Regions from separate parts of the Homo sapiens genome. Here regions 2, 3 and 4 are each linked to region 1. Evidence: promoter capture Hi-C in human tissues and cell types (Jung and others, 2019). All regions are on one chromosome and are shown on one strand. The core of a region is centred on a gene start or on the middle of the fragment in contact, and the rest is flanking DNA. Distances in the headings are between cores, read along the strand shown. Region 1 holds the start of ERN2 (endoplasmic reticulum to nucleus signaling 2). Region 2 overlaps PRKCB (protein kinase C beta). Region 3 overlaps PRKCB (protein kinase C beta). Region 4 overlaps PRKCB (protein kinase C beta).

Evidence for each region. Contacts are between HindIII fragments. The study calls those that stand out against the background at their distance.
Region 2: a contact is called between a fragment that was not itself captured here and the fragment with the promoter of ERN2 in region 1, in 2 of the 25 tissues and cell types used here (lymphoblastoid cells and spleen).
Region 3: a contact is called between a fragment that was not itself captured here and the fragment with the promoter of ERN2 in region 1, in 1 of the 25 tissues and cell types used here (dorsolateral prefrontal cortex).
Region 4: a contact is called between a fragment that was not itself captured here and the fragment with the promoter of ERN2 in region 1, in 2 of the 25 tissues and cell types used here (liver and spleen).

What each region holds. Positions count from the first base shown.
Region 1 is chr16:23,711,758-23,714,740 of GRCh38, reverse strand. It overlaps ERN2 (endoplasmic reticulum to nucleus signaling 2), which reads left to right and starts at 1,519. Exons shown (of 22, transcript NM_033266.4): 1 at 1,519-1,646. The coding sequence starts at 1,554. The HindIII fragment of the contact is 19,919 bases long and covers 1-2,983 here.
Region 2 is chr16:24,134,871-24,137,853 of GRCh38, reverse strand. All of the region lies in intron 9 of PRKCB (protein kinase C beta), which reads right to left. Among named protein-coding and RNA genes, the nearest start is that of MIR1273H, 67 kb to the left of the region's middle. RefSeq lists enhancers at 95-630, 631-1,166, 1,703-2,238. The HindIII fragment of the contact is 3,515 bases long and covers 1-2,983 here.
Region 3 is chr16:24,021,834-24,024,816 of GRCh38, reverse strand. All of the region lies in intron 3 of PRKCB (protein kinase C beta), which reads right to left. Among named protein-coding and RNA genes, the nearest start is that of MIR1273H, 180 kb to the left of the region's middle. RefSeq lists an enhancer at 1,944-2,103. The HindIII fragment of the contact is 5,902 bases long and covers 1-2,983 here.
Region 4 is chr16:24,002,036-24,005,018 of GRCh38, reverse strand. The region is part of intron 3 of PRKCB (protein kinase C beta); the gene reads right to left. Among named protein-coding and RNA genes, the nearest start is that of PRKCB, 170 kb to the right of the region's middle. The HindIII fragment of the contact is 9,013 bases long and covers 1-2,983 here.

The sequences.
Region 1 (2,983 bases), core at 270-2,769:
GTCTCCAAAGAGGTACACCCACTGAGAGGCTGCAATGCTGGCTAAGCTGTACCTTGGACATTGAAGACACCAAGGAGAGTGGCAGGATTTGTGATGGAGATGAAGGCTAGGGGCCAAGCTACCAAGTTTTCAGTAACTGTGAGGGGATGACCAGGAGGGCCAAGGATGACAAAGAGGACGGGGAGAAGGTGGCAGAGCTGGGCTGCATGACCCTCAAATCAGCAGGGATTTTTTTTTTTTTATTTTTACACAAGGATGAAGGAGACATGAATGAGTTGAAACTTGCAAACAGGGTGGACCTTACCTTCAAGGACCCTGGCAGACCCTCTCTGAACAAAACTGGAGACATCTACCAGGAGCAAGGGTGGTCACGGCCATTAGAAGGTGCCCTTCCATGCGGAGTTGTCTTACATCTAAGGCATAGGAATCTCTAAGCTCTACGAAGACAGGGACCTCATCATCTTGTTCATCAGGCAGGCATGTCATAGCTTATAATAAATGCATATTTATTGGCTGGGCGCGGTGGCTTATGCCTGTAATCCCAGCACTTTGGGAGGACGAGGTGAGCGGATCAACTGAGGTCAGGAGTTTGAGACCAGCCTGGCCAAAGTGGTGAAGCCCCATCTCTACTAAAAATACAGAAATTAGCTGGGCATGTTGGCCCACATTTTTAATCCCAGCTACTCGGGAGGAGGATTGCTTGGACCCAGGATGCAAAGGTTGCAGTTAGCCAAGATAGTGCCATTGCACTCCAGCCTGGGTGACAAGATCGACTCTGTCTCAAAAAATAAATACATGCATATTTATTTATTTATTTTATTTTTGGAGAGTGTGTCTCTCTCTGTCGCCCAGGCTGGAGTGCAATGGCACAGTTATAGCTCACTGCAGCCTTGACTTCCTGGCTCAAGCAATCCTCCCACCTCAGCCTCGCGAGTAGCTGGAACTACAGGTGGACATCACCACACCTGGCCATTTTTTTTTGTAGAGATGGGGTCTCACTATGTTGCTGGTCTCCAACTCCTGGTTTCAAGTGATCCTCCCTCCTAGGCCTCCCAAAGTGCTGGGATTACAGAGGTGAGCCACTTACCTGACCCATAATAAATATTTATTGAACGAACGACTGAATTCACCAATTAATCGCTATTTCCTGATAGCCCACCGGGATCCGCTGGTGCAATGATAAAGAGCGCAGGCTTTGAGATCAGGCGGATCTGTATTGGGACTGCGGCTCTCAGCCTCCGCTTGTACCTGCTGTGCAGTGAGGACTCCAGGAACTGATGATGAACCGGCACGGTCCTCGGCACGTGGCAAGTTCTCCATAAGTGGGCTCAGTAAAATCCCTCTCCCGGGAAAGCGCCCCACCGTGTTTGGTGGGGTGACTGGGACGCGAGGATGCGGCTGGGAGTGTGATGAGAAGGGCGGGGATCGGCGAGGACTCCAGGCTGGGGTTGCAGGCCCAGCCAGGGGCGGAGCCTTCTCCGGGTCGGGCGGGGACAGAGCGCTCCCTTGGAGGCACCCAGGGACCTGGCCAGCCGTGCAGCTGCCCAGGCGCTATGGCGAGTGCGGTCAGGGGGTCGAGGCCGTGGCCCCGGCTGGGGCTCCAGCTCCAGTTCGCGGCGCTGCTGCTCGGGACGCTGAGTCCACAGGTGAGAGCCAGGGACCGACGCCAAGTCCCCAAAGTCTGGTCGCGGGGCGCAGGGGGCGGCGTCGCACTTGGGGCGAGGGCGCGGCGGGGCCACGGGGGCACCTCTCCCTCCCTCACGCCTGGGTGGTCCCAACTCGGCCCCAACGGAGTAAAAGCCTCCTGGGTTTGGGGAGCCGCCAGTTGCCCCCAACAAATACCTAGCTGGGGAGATCTGCCAGCGTGGAAAGGCAAGAGTAGACAGAGCACCCCGCCTCTTCAGCAGGGAGAGGTGTAGTCTGGGGTAGGGGGGCACCTGGGCACGAAAGCCAGGCCTCTTAAAACTTCTGGGAATCCTGGCTTCCTTTGAAAATATGATTGACTTCAGGGCCCTCTGCTGAGAAATGAGCCTGCACGCCCAGTTTTGCAATTTCAGAGGCTTTACAATACGGTCCCCTTACCCATGGCTGCACCCCAGGTTCAGAACCTATGGGATAAATGAGCTGGGAGTGTCAGTATCTGCTCCCACGGTGCCAGGAATAGCAGAGTCTTACAGAAATGCAGCCAGGAGGCAAAAGTCGCCTGGCCTAAGAATCCAGGTGTCCCGCCTAGAACCCCCATGGGGCAAAAGCGATCAGGTAGAGTTAGGCACCTCTCATTCCCGGCTTCCACCTCATGGGTCCACCTCATGGTTGCCAGCTAAGAATGCAAGCCCAGTGTGGCCAGATCGGATGTCTCTGGAAAAATTAGAAATGAGAAAGATTTGAAATCTTGGTTTTTTTGTAGAAATCATCCAATTTTTAAAAAAATTGGCAGCTAATTGAAAAATTTTTAAGCACTAGATGGTCAAACAAAATTCATTTCTGGGCAACCAATCTGCAGCCTCTTCTCCAAACCGTTCTCCCTCCTGCCATGCTGCAGATGACAAAATTGAAGCCCAGAAAGAAAGAGGGGCTAGCAGATAATTTCCTGACCCTCCACTCAACACCAGTGGCCCAGCCCCAAACCTGAGGGTCCTGAAGCAGGATGTGGCCTTTGTAGGGGTGCGGCTGGGCCACCCGGATGTTAGGCCTCCTGCTGGGAGCTCAGCCTCACCCTGTTTGCTCAAGGAGGGACTGGAGCAGGTGAGTGAGCCCAGGATCGCCAGATGTAAGTACGGGTGGCTCCAGCCCCCCTCCCAAGGGCACCCCCCAGCCTTGGGTCAAGGGACCCACTGGAGCCTGGCACCAAAACCAGCTGGGCTGGTTTGGGGAGGCAGAAAGGGGCATCCCAAAAGAGGTAGACATTGTGGCAGAGGAAAAAGAGGCCAGGCATAGGAATCAGAGGGATGGCAACTCAAGTCCTTAGTTTTGCCACTTATTA
Region 2 (2,983 bases), core at 137-2,636, 420 kb before region 1:
GGTACCATCCACATTTGTACATCCAAAATATTTATCATGGGTGTTGGATGATTACAATCCACAAATTTCTGCCATTATGTTTGTTGTATTATAGAAAAGATTATGGGTTATGCTGTTAGTAACCAGGGATTCATTTTACCAGGACTGTAAATTTCTGAAATAATACATAGAGATAAAGTTGAGATGGATATGCAGAGGATGGCAGGTACCATGATAGCACAATAATTGGACCAGTAGCCATGAATGATCACCTGAGACAGAGTTTCCATGTTAATGGGCTCTATCTGGTCCTTCTACAAGAGGACTTGATTTATCTTTGCGATATTTTTCCCAAAGAATCAGGCAACATTTTAGAGAAAACACAGGGCCCAGCGACGTGACTCACACTTGTAATCCCACTGCTTTGGGAGGCTGAGGCAGGAGGATCGCTGGTGGCCAGAAGTTTAAGACCAGCCTGGTCTACATAATGAGATCCCATCTCTAGAAAAAAAACAAAAATGAGCCAGGCACGATGGCATGCACTTGTAGTCCCAGCTAGTCGGGAGGCTGAGGCAGGAGGATCGCTTGAGCCCAGGAGTTCGGGGCTGCAGTGAGCTAAGATCATGCCACTGCACTCCAGCCTAGGCAACAAAGCCAGATGCTGTCTCTAAAAAATTAAAATAAAAGGCCAGGCACAGTGGCTCACACCTGTAATCCCAGCACTTTGGGAGGCCAAGGCAGATGGATCATTTGAGGTCAGGAGTTCAAGACTAGCCTGGCCAACATGGTGAAACCCCGTCTCTACTAAAAATACAAAAAAAAAAAAAAAATTAGCCGGGCATGGTGGCATGCGCATATAATCCCAGCTACTCGGGAAGCTGAGGAAGGAGAATCGCTTGAACCCAGGAGGTGGAGGTTGCAGTGAGCCGAGATCATGCTACTGCAATCCAGCCTGGGCGACAGAGTGAGACTCCATCTCAAAAATAAATAAATAAACAAAATAAAAAAATTAAAATAAAAAATAATACACATTTAAAGGAAACTCCCACTTTGGCCTGTGTGCCAGACAGGCCCGTCGTTTTCTTCTTTCTCATAGGAAAACTGCCCACATCCTATTTGCTTTTCTTGTCATCTTTCCTGATGGATGGTTGGAAAAGTAACCGCTTCCCCGGTCACAGTGAATTGGATCCTAGGGATCCCTGGTCCACACTGGCCCATCAGTTTTTCTTTCCCGGGATTTTAGATTCCTAGGATATTCTACATGTGAGAATTAGACATGGAGACTTGAGAAGCATCAACAAGGCTGAGAGAGGTGGTGCTGATGCGTATCTGCAGAGAGATGTCATCGAGAAGCAGGGATGACAGGCTGGGGGCCCCCCTACAACCCCCCAGATGGAGCCATGGTTATCAGACTGCTGGAAGCTCTCTCATTCAGGTGGCACTTCTTGCCTCTGGGTGTCTTGAGATACACAGAAACAAGCCATGTCTTCTCAGCAAATACCCGCTTTACTCACTCTGGCTTGACAATCTACTTGCAGCAGATGGAAGGTTGTAAAACTTAAATTCCTGACATTTCATTTTCCTTGATATAATTTATTTTCTTGAGAAAAATGAACCTTATCTTGTCTTGTAACATACTACCTTCTGAGAATTGAAGGCAGAGGCTGCGGAAGAGCAGTAAGTCACTTCATTGAGGAGAGACCTGGAAAATTCGGGAAGGTGGAAGAAGGGCCTCACGAGGATCTGGGAAGATGAGTTGGCAAAAAAAAAAAAAAAAACACGCTGCAATCAGAATTGCATATGAAAGAAGGAAAGGTTGAAGGCTTGGTGGGGGCAGGGAAGTGACATAATTGCGATAGAACCAAAGAGAAGGCAGGAATCCAAGATCAGACAGCAAATGTCAAAAAGGTTCTCTGGAAGAGGATTAAGGAAACAGGTAGCAAACACTTTGAGCTATCTGTGAACCATATGATAAAGGAACTCACCATATGGTGCAGGAAGATAGCAAAGCAGGCTGAAGTACAGGGAAGTGCTTTTGTCTGTAGGATTATATAACCACATCTAATGTATGTATGTATATGTCTGTGTGTGAATACATACCACTAATGAGATTAAAATTAGTAGAGACTCCCACAACAGAAGCTCAGACTTTAGAGAAGGCCTTTGTTCCTGGCATGAACTAAGCTGCCTTTTAATCTCCTCAGGCAATTTCTTCCTGTTAAAATCTGGTGCCGGGCTTGGCTCCAGCAGATGATGCTGTGAGGCCAGGTGTGGTGGCTCAAGCCTGTAATCCCATCACTTTGGGAGGCTGAGGCAGGCGGATCACTTGAGGCCAGGAGTTCGAGACCAGCCTGGCCAACATGGTGAAACCCTGTCTCTATTAAAAACATAAAAATTACTTGGGCGTGGTGGCAGGCGTTTGTAATCCCAGCCACTCGGGAGGCTGAGGCAGGAGAATTGCTTGAACCTGGGAGGTGCAGTGACTCAAGATCACCCCACTGCACTCCAGCCTGGGCAACAGAGCAAGACTCTGTCTCAAAAAGGAAAAAAAAAAAAAAAAAAAAGGGACACTGAGGTCTGGGGCCTGGAACTCTGGAATGCTCTCTCATGCTCACAGAGCATGGTAGTTAAGCACCCTGGCCTTTGGGAAGAAAAGTTTGGAGGCTGCAGAGGGAGGTGCTATTGAGATGCTGGAGCTGGAACATAGGGCTGACTTCTCCATCAAAACCCACCAGGCACAGTGCTCAGGGCCCATGCTGTTTTCAAGGTTCATAAGGCACTTTAATTTTTTTTTTTAAATCACAAGGAAAAAAGTGAACCTAGGTGGAAGTACATGTTTTAATATGTAATATTAATATATTTGTCTTCATACCAATGCAGTCATGAGATACCATTTTTTGCTTTTTTTTTCATGGAAGAAGGAGAAACCCACAAATGTCATTATGCAGCTTTCTAAATATATAAGAGACAGGGTGTCCCTCTGCTGTCCAGGCTGGAGTGCAAT
Region 3 (2,983 bases), core at 298-2,797, 310 kb before region 1:
ATGCCATCTCTGAGATGGGCACCTCCCAAAAGCCATGCTTGTACTTTGAGACATCCACATTCCCTGAACACAGCTGACTGGGGCAGAGGTGGACACTTGGCTCAAGGGTCACATATGCTGAGTGGCTGGGACACAGGTAATCAGTCCTGAGGCCAGCAGACATACAGTTCCAGGGCTGAGGCTGCTAATTTTATATTTGATTGACAAATTATAATTGTATGCATTTATGGGGTACAATGTGATTGTTCTGATTGTTCTGAATATACACACACAATGTGGCATGATTAAATCAAGAAAATTAACATATCCATCACCTAACTTGCCTATCATTTTCTTAGCTTGAGATATTTGAAATTTACTCTCTTAATTACTTTGAAACATACATATTATTGACTAATGTCACCCTGCTGTGCAATAGATCTCAAAGGCAATTCCTCCTATCCGAAACATTGTACTCTTTGCTCAGCAACTCTCCATTTCTTCCCTACTCCTGCCTCCTGCTGTCCCCCAGCTTCTGGTAACCATCATTCTACTCTCTACTTCTGTGAGTTCAACTTCATTAGATTCCACATCTAAGTGAGATCATGCAGTATTTGTCTTTCTGTGCCTGGCTTATTTCACTTAGCATAATGTCCTCCAGGTTCATCCACATTGTAGCAAATGACAGTTGGTGCTGATTTTTATGGTGCGCTCTGAGGAACCTGGAGAAACAAAGACAAAGACTACATGACCCCAGGGATGAAGCTCCTGGTTCTGGTCCCTGGGGTTCTGGCATCCTGCCTTCCAATTCCATCTGCCTCCCTGTGTCCTCTAAAATTTGTCCTTTGTGCTTCAGCCAATCCAGGTAGGCATGTTACCTACAACCAGGGGTGAGTCAAGATATCTATAATTGCCTTGGCTCAGGGACTGCCCACAGACCAAACGGAATGGACAGCAGAGCCTGGCTGTGCTGGGAGTTAGCACTCTAGTCACCACGTCATGGAGGGGGTGTGGTAGGAGCTGGCAGAGGCAGATATGGGTAAGTGGAAGGTTGGGGGAAAAGGCCCAGAGGACCCAGTGGCTATTTACCCATCGGTTTCAGAGTATTTCAATATTTCCACCACTGGTACAGTAGTGCCAGGGCATGCAGGTTAAATATCAGTCCTGCCTGGCCGGGTGCGGTGGCTCACGTCTGTAATCCCAGCACTTTGGGAGGCCGAGGCTGGCGGATCACGAGGTCAGGAGATCAAGACCATCCTGGCTAACACGGTGAAACCCCGTCTCTACTAAAAATACAAAAAATTAGCCGGGCGTGGTGGCGGGCGCCTGTAGTCCCAGCTATTCAGGAGGCTGAGGCAGGAGAATGGTGTGAACCTGGGAGGCAGAGCTTGCAGTGAGCCGAGATCCCGCCACTGCACTCCAGCCTGGGTGACAGAGCGAGACTCCGTCTCAAAATAAATAAATAAGTATCAGTCCTGCCTTTAACCAAAATACATTCCCTTCCTAGCCTTGATGCTGTGGGTATTGACCAAGCCTGAGATGAGTCTGGGAATCCTCATGGCCTGTAAGCCATCACTCCCTCTATGGGGTTTGGTTCTGATCGCATTCAAAGATGCAGCTTCCTGGCTGGGAGCAGTGGCTCATGCCTGTAATCCCAGCCAAGGTGGGAAGATCGCTTGAGCCCAGGAATTCAAGGCTGCAGTGAGCCATGATGGCACCACTGCACTCCAGTGACAGAGAGAAACTCTGACTCAAAAACAAAAAAAAAGACACAGCTTCCATCTCTGCCTCAATCCCTCCCCTAGTCTCATTTTACATCAGATCCTCGTCACCCAGGCCACACTGACTAGACACCTCCAGGCCACCTAGAGCCTGTCCCATCCCTGGCCTGGGCCCTCCTTCATGCCCAGGGGCCACAGTGTGGAACCCAGAAGCTATATCAAGCCTGTAAAGAAGCTACCGTTGGCCAACAAGGTGCTTCTTAGAAATCCAAATAAGTTTACTATATTTAAGTCAGGAACTATCAGATTAAAATGTGAAATTTTGGCCAGGCACAGTGGCTCACGCCTGTAATCCCAGCACTTTGGGAGTCCGAGGCAGGCGGATCACGAGGTCAGGAGATCGAGACCATCCTGGCTAACACGGTGAAACCCTGTCTCTACTAAAAATACAAAAAGAATTAGCCGGGCGTGGCGGCATGCACCTCTAGTCCCAGCTACTCAGGAGGCTGAGGCAGGATAATGGCATGAACCCGGGAGGCGGAGCTTGCAGTGAGCTGAGATCGCACCACTGCACTCCAGCCTGGGCAACAGAGCGAGACTCTGTCTCAAACAAAAAAAAGAAAGAAAGAAAGAATAAAAAATGTGAAATATTGCTTCCTTTTGAGAAATCATCAGCTGTGACAACACAGAACACTCATTTCTGTGGGCTGAGCAGTGGTTTTCCCCTTTAGATAAGTAATAAACTTTCTAGTTTTCCACAGTCCCCACTCTTCCCTATTGTCTTACACCAGGCCTGCTTCTCTCTTTCCCCTTTCCTGCCTGGACCCTGTAGGAATTTGGATTTGGGACCTCTGCCAGACTCCCTACCTTCTTCCCAACAGTGCTGGAATCCAACCCCATGTGAACACATCCCCTAAACTCCCGAGTGAGTTTGTCTGACTCAGTCTCAAGTGCTCTCAAAAACAGGTTTGAAACTATTACACTCCTGCCGCAGCATCACCCCTTGATCATCCCCAGTCATCTCGCCCACCCCTGGAAATCAGGTTTCCACAGGATCCTGGCACGATTCCTCTTCCCAGTATTTCCTGTTGCTGAGGCTCCATCTCCACATGCCTGGTATTAGGCAAGCTTGGATTCCCAAATTTCCTTCCATTTCCAATCTTTATTCAAGAGATTGTTGAATACAACAACAAAATAACCGTCGAATGTGACTTTTACTGCCACCAATTTTATTGAATTGAACACATACTACCTGCCAAGCACTGTGCTGAGTCCTCTATGTC
Region 4 (2,983 bases), core at 1-2,500, 290 kb before region 1:
ACTGGCCAGCATTCCACCATATGACTGTAATATATTTTACTTATATAAACTCTAATTGGTAGTGAGACTTGGGTCATTTTCAAATTTTTGATATTATAAATACTGATGCAATGAATATCACTCTAGATAAATCTATGCATTTATCCTGAAATGGTTTCTTACCAAAAATTCCTAGAATTGTCATTCTTAGGTCAAAATGATTAGATTTAGTAATTCTTAGGTCAAAAATGTGTTTAAAGCTCTGGATATGTATGGAAAATTTGCTCTTTAGAAAACATATACTAATTTGCCACTCACCAGTAATGCATTAGAGTTCATGTTTTCTCCTTCCCTGTTTTATGTTTTTGTTTAGTTTTGTTTATTTGAGACAGAATCTCACTCTGTTGCCCAGGCTGGAGTGCAGTGGTGCAATCACAGCTCATTGCAGCCTCCACCTCCCAGGCTTAAGTGATCCTCCCACATCAGCCTCCTGAGTAGCTGGGACTACAGGTGCATGCCACCATGCCTGGCTAATTTTTTCTTTTTTTTTTTTTTTTTTTTGTAGAGACTTGGTTTCGCCATGTTGCCCAGGCTGGTCTCAAACTCCTGAGCTCAAGTGATCTGCTGGGACATCTGCCCCCGTTTATGCTTTTTGTTTTGAGTCCTATTTCTTTTGATATCATTATTAAGACCATGTTTCATTTTTATATATGTATTTTCATGATACACTTTTGTCCCTTTTATTTTTAAAACCTGTGCTTTAAGCATCTTTTATACACTGCCAAGAGTTGTACATTGCTCATCCAATCTCATAGTCTTTGCCTTTCAGTAGAGAATTTCAATCCATTTACATTGGTTGGGTAACATTCTGCTATCACTTCTACCATCTAAATTTATGCTTTCCAGATTCCACGGTTCCTTGCTGGCATATTTTTATCTTTATTCCTATATTTTGTTATATTGATCATAATTTTCTTTGTTGTTTTATCTCTAGATTGTTTCCTCCACATTATTTGAATGCATAATGTCCGTGACAACAATAAAATAGCATTCACTATTTTATTTGGGATATGTTCATCTAGACTCATGTATGAGACTGGCTTGTAGTTTACTTTTTATGCCAACTTTACTAGGTAATAGCGGTTATTGTGGTTAAGCAAGCTTATAATAATTAGTTATTACTTTCATCAGCGCATCAAAGTTTCTCCTTCACTCTTCTTATAACATACACTGCTCCTGGGTGAAAGGGATGCCATGGGATCCAGGTCTGAGGTTATAAGAGTTCGTTCTCCCAGTGATAGAGAACCAACTCCATCAGAACATTTTCTGAGATCAATTATGAATGCAGGGAAGATGGCTGGGTGCAGTCGCTCACGCCTGTAATCCTAGCACTTTGAGAGGCTGAGACAGGGAGATCACTTGAGATCAGGAGTTCGAGACCAGCCTGGCCAATATGCTGAAACCTTATCTCTACTGAAAATACAAAAATTAGCTGAGTATGGTGGTGCACATCTGTAGTCCCAGCTACTTGGGAGGCTGAGGCAGGAGAATTGCTTGAATTCAGGAGGCAGAGGTTGCAGTGAGCTGAGATCGTACCACTGCACTCCAGCCTGGGCAACAGAGCGAGACTTTGTCTCAAAAAAAAAAAAAAAACGAATGCAGGAAGAAGGCTAATTCCTCCACTAGGGTTGCCATCTTTCCATGGGGTCAACTGTAACGATGTTTGCAGACATGTTCCATCTACAGCAGGAGCAAATGAGGCAAGACAAAGCAGATGCATCAGTCAGGGGCCCCGCAGGAAACAGATGGCATACTAAAGTGAAGAGTGTTTAAGAAAGGTTCAATGAAAGGACTGTTTCTAAAGGTGTGGGCATGGTGTTGGGAAAGTATAAGGGATTGGAGGCTAGTAAGAGCCAGAGGACAAAGGAAGGGAGTAGCTCCTGGAACCCAGAAGGAGAGAATTACATAGAGAAGATGATCTGTAGAGGAGCAGCAACCTATAGTCAAAAGGTAGAGTGAAGATGACTCCATAATAAATACTGACTGACTCGGGGAGGGTCTCACTCTCCCCTCCCCAAGTCTCCTATTAGCCCCTCCCCTTGAGTCCAACCAGAGGTCAGGTCAGAGGGTAAGGGAGCCCCAGTTGAAGCAGTCATTATGGCTTAGTCTCTCAGAGAAAGCAGAGTGGATTGGAAGGGCAAACGAGGCATCTGGCACAGCAGATAAGGGTCAGTGTGGTAGACTGCACAATGGCCACCAATGTCTCCCATCCCCGCATGCTCCTTGGCCATGTGACTTTGCTATTCTTCCCATCCAGAGATGAAGTTTGTTTCTCCACCCCAAATCTGATCTTGTCCATAACCACTGTGACACAAACAAAGGCTTAAAAAACACCTATGCTGGCCAGGCGCAGTGGCTCACACCTGTAATCCTAGCACTTTGGGAGGCTGAGGCAGGCAGAACGCTTGAGGTCAGGAGTTCAAAACCAGCTGGCCAACATGGTGAAACCCCGTCTCTACAAAAAATACAAAAATTAGCTAGGCGTGGTGGTGGGTGCCTATAATCCGAGCTACTCAGGAGGCTGAGGCAGGAGAATCACTTGTATCTGGGAGGGTTGCGGTGAGCCGAGATCACACCACTGCACTCCAGCCTGGGTAACAGAAAGAGACTCCATTTCACACACACACACGCACGCACGCACACACACACACGCACGCACACACACATACACACACACACACCTGTGCTTTGGGATTTCCCTCTCTTGCCGTGCTTGGAACCGTGAAACTAAGCTAGCCTGGTGGAGGAAAAGAGGACGCATGGAGGAAAAATGAAATGCCCAGATCGACAGCCTGCCAGCCCTCAGTCAATGCTAGCAAGGCTGTTCTAGGTAATCCAGCATCGGCCCAGCCACTAGCTGACCAAGACCCAGGACAGAGCCCAGCAGGGATTACCCAAATAAACCCAGGTCAGAAGAATCACCCAAGTAACCCACACAATCATG